Linked DNA regions of Homo sapiens: region 1 is linked to region 2. Evidence: promoter capture Hi-C in human tissues and cell types (Jung and others, 2019). All regions are on one chromosome and are shown on one strand. The core of a region is centred on a gene start or on the middle of the fragment in contact, and the rest is flanking DNA. Distances in the headings are between cores, read along the strand shown.

Region 1 (2,873 bases), core at 253-2,752, 75 kb after region 2:
ATCATCTGTGATATGGAAAAAGTTGGATGTACATTTGAGTGTATGTCATTATCACAACTATGTAAAAGGAAAAGTCCAGGGTAAGAATCCTGGTGAGAAATACATGACAATGGGCACCATTCTTTCTTGCATTTGTGGGTATTTTCTCTGTGCTTCTTCTTCTCCAAGGCCATTACTCACTTTTTATGATGCTGGCTTATTTATAATTTTTTTTTTTTTTTGAGATGGGGTCTCGCACTGTTGCCCATGCTGGAGTGCAGTGGCACGATCTTGGCTCACTGCAACCTCCGCCTCCCGAGTTCAAGCGATTCTCCTGCCTCAGCCTCCCGAGTAGCTGGGACTACAGGTGCCCGCCACCATGCCTGGATAATTTTTTGTATTTTTAGTAGAGAAGAGGTTTCACCATGTTGGCCAGGTTGGTCTCAAACTCCTGACCTCATGATCCGCCCACTTCAGCCTCCCAAAGTGCTGGGATTACAGATGTGAGCCACCATGCCTGGCCCTGTTTTATAATTTTTAAATATTGCAAAACTAGGCTCTTCTAATGATTTTCAAGTCCTTTATATCCTTTTTCCCTTTCAATTACAGAATCCAAATTAAATAGCTGTTTGACGGTTCGTATGAAGTACCTTAAGTGTGTACACATTTTCAATTCTAGGCATTTATCTTAAGGAAGTACTTAGAGATATGGCCAAAGATTTATGTTCGTGCATTTTGATAAAAATGTTATATATAATTGTACAAATTGAAAACAACATAAATATCCAGCAATAGAGGAATAGTTAAAATATAATGAGATTTTAAGCATCCATTAGAAAAGCAAGTTTTGCTAAAATGTTATGATGGAAAAAATGCTTATTAAATAGTAAAAAGCTGTAAAACTATTATTTTGTATGAGGCTGACATTATAAAACATATCATCAAGAACCCCAGGAAGGCCGGGCTCAGTGGCTCATGCCTGTAATCCCAGCACTTTGGGAGGCTGAGGCAGGTGGATCACTTGAGGTCAGGAGTTCAAGACCAGCCTGGCCAACATGGTGGAACCCTGTCTCTACTAAAAATACAAAAATTAGCTGGATGTGGTGGCAGGTGCCTGTAATCCCAGCTACTCGGGAGGCTGAGGCAGGAGAAGCACTTGAACCTGGGAGGCAGAGGTTGCAGTGAGCCGAGATCGTGTCACTGCACTCCAGCCTGGGTGTCACAGTGAGAATCTGTCTCAAAAAAAGAAAAAAAAAAAAAAGAATCCCAGGAAAAATAAAGAGACCCAAATGTTAGGTGTTGGAATTAATTATATGACACCCTACAGGTGTCAGCCTCTGCATCCCTCTCTCTTTCAAACTCCATGCAGAGTATCTTATGTATTGAGACTTTTAAAAAATAAATAAATAAGATCCTTATATGACAGAGATATAATCTAAAATCCCTTGAGGACGTATTCTTTGCCATTATTTACAAAGGTGACTCTTTTTTCTTGATATAAAATGTAAGGCTGGGTGTGGTGGCTCATGCCTGTAGTCGCAGCATTTTGGGAGGCCAAGGTGGGAGGATCACTTGAGCTTGGGTTTGAGACCAGTCCAGGCAACATAGAGAGATCCCGTCTCTATGGGGAAAAAAAAAAAAAAAAGGCATTAAGTACATTCACATTGTTGTGTAATCAATCGCTAGGGCTCTTTTCCAGACTTGCGACTTTTCAATGAAATATTGTTTTGGAAGTCACATCTACAGTGACTGAGGTCCAGAGGAGGTGCATCGTGAATGCATGCCTTCAAAGTTTTAAAAAACAAAGATTAGGGGAGAAGCAGGTTTTGGAAAAGCAGTCCAGTGTCTCACCTCTAAATGTGCAGCCTGTGTGGGGTTGAACCCGCTCTGTCTATGGAAACGTTGGTGTTGTGTGTCTAAGTTAGTACCGCCATCATCTTGCTTTTGTTCCTAGCCAGGATGGGAGGGCTGGGATCCCTCCTTTGACTTCTGGCTCGTGTCCAGGCAGTTTGCGTCACTGACTGAACTGGGGCTCCTATCATGTCACTGAGGAACTAGTGTTGATTCTTGGAGAAGGTAGTCTCTTGGCCTTCCTGGTAGGCAGTGAAACCGTTAGACCCTCAGGGCAGTAAAGCTATTCCTGCCTCAGAGCTCTGCCAGCAAAATCATCTTGATTCTTTAAACATGTAAATCTCAGGCTACAGATTTCAGGAAAAGTCACTTTTTTTTCCTTACTGGGGACTTACACAGCATGTGACTTTTCATTTAAGCTTTACCTTACATCTCCTCCTGGTTCAAGCTGCTTGGGCTTGCAGGGGCCCCAGATCATAAATGCTGATAAAGCACAGTGACTCCGCAGGGTGTGTGCTCTCCTCGGGAGTGGAACACTCAGCTCTGGGACAGGCCGCTGTGTACCCAAGGGCGTGCCTAGACGGCCACGGGTGAGGACGGGGCATGGTGGCACCTGGCTCTGACTCCGCATATTTCTCGAGTATGAAGTGATGTGAAGTGGGGTCCCTGGGTGTCCTCTGCATCCACCTGCTCATTGAGTCCTTCTGAGCGCAGCTTTGGCAGGAGCAGACAGTCTGGGCTGGACCTCGACCTGCTGCCCTGGAAAGAAAGCCCTTGCTCCCTGCACTTGCTGTCACAGCTGTGTCTTCCTGGGCCCCCTCTGGCTTGGGAGTCGTCACCAGCTCTGCACTGGTGTTTGGTTGTGTGAGCTCCTAGTGTTCCCAAAGGAGTGAGCACTCATTTGGAGAACTGAGTCCTCCCATGATGGCACTGCTTAAAATCCAAACCCAGAGTCAAGTCCAGAGGTCCTCGACCTGTGAGGCAAGTATGGTTTTTACATTTTTAAAAGTTCATACAACAAAATAAAACAAAACAAACAGACC
Region 2 (2,974 bases), core at 387-2,886:
AGTCATTGGCTACCCCTGTCAGTGGGGGTGAAACCTCCAGGTGGTTTCTAGGCTAGCTGACTCCTGCCAGCCAAGCACAATTCTCCAGAGAACACAGGCATATAAGCCTTGTCCACCAGCGAAGCAGCAGCTGGGGCCGGGCACATTGGTGGTGAAGGCCTTCTGGGTGAGACATCAACAGTGTTTGCAACAATCATTTAAAGAGTTATTTAACATCAGGCTGGGTGTGGTGGCTCATGCCTGTAATCCTAACACTTTGGGAGGCTGAGGTAGGCAGATCACTTGAGGTCAGGAGTTTGAGACCAGTCTGGCCAACGTGGTGAAACCCTGTCTCTACTAAAAATACAAAAAAAAGCCGGGCGCAGTGACTCACGCCTGTAATCCCAGCACTTTGGGAGGCCCAGGTGGGCAGATCACCTGAGGTCTGGAGTTTGAGACCAGCCTGATCAACATGGAGAAATCCCCCTCTCTACTAAAAATACAAAATTAGTTGGGTGTGGTGGCGCATGCCTGTAATCCCAGCTACTCGGGAGGCTGAGGCAGGAGAATCTCTTGAACCTGGGAAGCAGAGGTTGCAGTGAGCCGAGATCACACCACTGCACTCCAATGTGGGCAGCAAGAGCGAGACTCTGTCTCAAAAAAAAAAAAAAAAAAAAAGAGAGAGTCATTAAACATCAAAAGGAAAAGAAAGCAAGCAATATGCAGACTGACTCTATAGAGGCTGGCTCTTTTCTCCCCTTGGCCTCTGCTGTCTATACTTACTAGTTGGCTGTCATTGAAACTTAACAAATGGCCAGGTGTGGTGGCTCATGCCTGTAATCCCAGCAGTTTGGGAGGCCAAGGCAGGCAGATCACCTGAGGCAAGGAGTTCGAGACTATCGACAAAGTGAGACTCCATCTCAAAAAAAAAAAAAACCAAAAAAAGAAAGAAAAAGAAACTTAACAAACATATGTAGAAGTCTTGGCTCTAGATAACTGAGAGAAATAGGACTGGCTTAGTGAGTTGCCAATTATATTCTAATAATAGGATTCTTTATTAAAACAACTGTGGAAGAAAACAGTGTTTGCTTTTTATTCCTTTTGAAATCTGGGGCACTTTGCAAAATGGAAATCAATGCCTCGACTTGCATTGGTGTGTGATCTGGGGTTTTTGCTTCTGCAGGAGAAGCCCTATCTGGCTTATTGGCTGCCTGCCTTGCCCTATGTCTTTCTTTCTTTTTTTTTTTTTTAATTTGTATAAATGTGTGAAGTACAAGTGTAATTTTGTTAGATGCATACATCGCATAGTGGTGAAGTCAGGGCTTTTAGGGTATCCATAACCCCAACAATGTACATTGTATCTGTTAAGTAATCTCCCATTATCCTTGCCCTGTCATCTAAGGAGTGGGCTTGTTACTTTGGACTGAGCCACCTGGGGCTAGAGAAGAGAAGGCATTGAGTGAGGGAAACGGGCTTGGGAATTCCGGAGATTGTTATCCTGCCCTGCCCGCTGTCTGAGGGGATTCTCCTCAAGTACCCTGGAATGTTCCTGTGGCCCCTGTGGATCGCCACCACAAAGATCATGAGGTTCTGTTGCCCTGGCAACCCGTTGTCCAGCGCCTCTGCACTGGGGCTGCCAAGGTTCCAGGAAGAGGCAGGACTGCCCGGCCCAGCCTTGGAGGAAGACTTCTGGGCAGAAGCGGAACACAGGAGCAGAGACACATAGTCTTGGCTCCAGTTTCGTTTCAGTTATGCCCACCCTTTCAGTGTTCATGGATGTGCCCCTCGCCCACAAGCTAGAGGGCAGCTTGTTAAAGACCTACAAACAAGATGATTACCCGAACAAGATATTCTTAGCCTATAGAGGTAGATGCCTAGCAGTTCTGAAGTATAAGACTTAAGTGATGGTAACTGCCTCTAGGAGGACAGTGTTCCCTGCTGCAGGGGGAGGGGTGCAGCCCAAGCTTCTGTGGGTGGAGAGATCTTTTCTTGTTAACAGAATTACCCAGTGGGGAAAAGTGCAGATAAGGTCCCAGGTCATTCCATGCTCTCTGCCCTTCTCTGGGGGCTTCTAGGGATTTGGTGAGAGCTATGTCCTCTTCCACAACTCTATGCTTGGGGGCCTGCATGGCCATCCCACACTTCTTCAGATTCTTACCTCCTCTCTCTCTCTTTCTCTTTCTCTTCCTGTTCTTGAACCAAGAATGGTTCTCCAGATTGAGCTTTCTGCTATGCAACTGGGGCTCACCACTGTGAAAGTCAGGGTTACCTTTATTTAGCTTCATCTACCTATAACTCTCATTTTGCATATATATATATATATATATATATATATATATATATATATATTTTTTTTTTTTTTTTCTTGAGACAGGGCCTCACTCTGTTGCCCAGGCTGAAGTGCAGTGGCAAGATCTCAGCTCACTGCCACCTTTGCCTCCTGGGCTCAAACCATCCTCTTGCCTCAGCCTCCTGAGTAGCTGGGACTACAGGCGCTGGTCACCATGTCTGGCTGTTTTGTATTTTTTTGTAGAGACAGGGTTTCATCATGTTGCCCAGGCTGATCTTGAACTCCTGAACTCAAGTGATCCACCCACCTTAGCCTCCCGAAGTGCTGGGATTACAGGCCTGAGCCACCAATCCTGGGCTTGTATAATTTTTAACCTTTAAAATGGCATAGGTTTCAGTTGTCTTTTTTAAAAAGACAAAAATAATACACATTCACTAACAGCATATTCTTTTCATCAAGGAGAAAAGAAAAGGGAAAGTTGTATTTTCACAGGCACCTTCCCACAGCCCCATGGAGTCCAGGAGAGATTTGTTTGCAGGCTGTCTGCAGAGCTCAGCCCTGGGGGCCCAAACCAGGCATCTGGAGCTCCCTCTGTGGTTTTCCTCACAGTCTGCATGACAAATGAAGGCCATCCCTGGGTTTCTCTCGTGGTGCAGAAGACTCGACTACAGATTTCACAGGATCCCTCCCTGAATTATGAGTACT

What was found. Contacts are between HindIII fragments. The study calls those that stand out against the background at their distance.
Region 1: a contact is called between a fragment that was not itself captured here and the fragment with the promoter of GOT1L1 in region 2, in 3 of the 25 tissues and cell types used here (mesendoderm cells, spleen and thymus).

The regions. Positions count from the first base shown.
Region 1 is chr8:37,863,683-37,866,555 of GRCh38, reverse strand. The region is part of intron 5 of RAB11FIP1 (RAB11 family interacting protein 1); the gene reads left to right. Among named protein-coding and RNA genes, the nearest start is that of BRF2, 15 kb to the right of the region's middle. The HindIII fragment of the contact is 5,114 bases long and covers 1-2,873 here.
Region 2 is chr8:37,938,786-37,941,759 of GRCh38, reverse strand. GOT1L1 (glutamic-oxaloacetic transaminase 1 like 1) reads left to right here and starts at 1,636. Exons shown (of 9, transcript NM_152413.3): 1 at 1,636-1,845; 2 at 2,879-2,974. The coding sequence starts at 1,731. RefSeq lists an enhancer at 1,614-2,130. The HindIII fragment of the contact is 11,209 bases long and covers 1-2,974 here.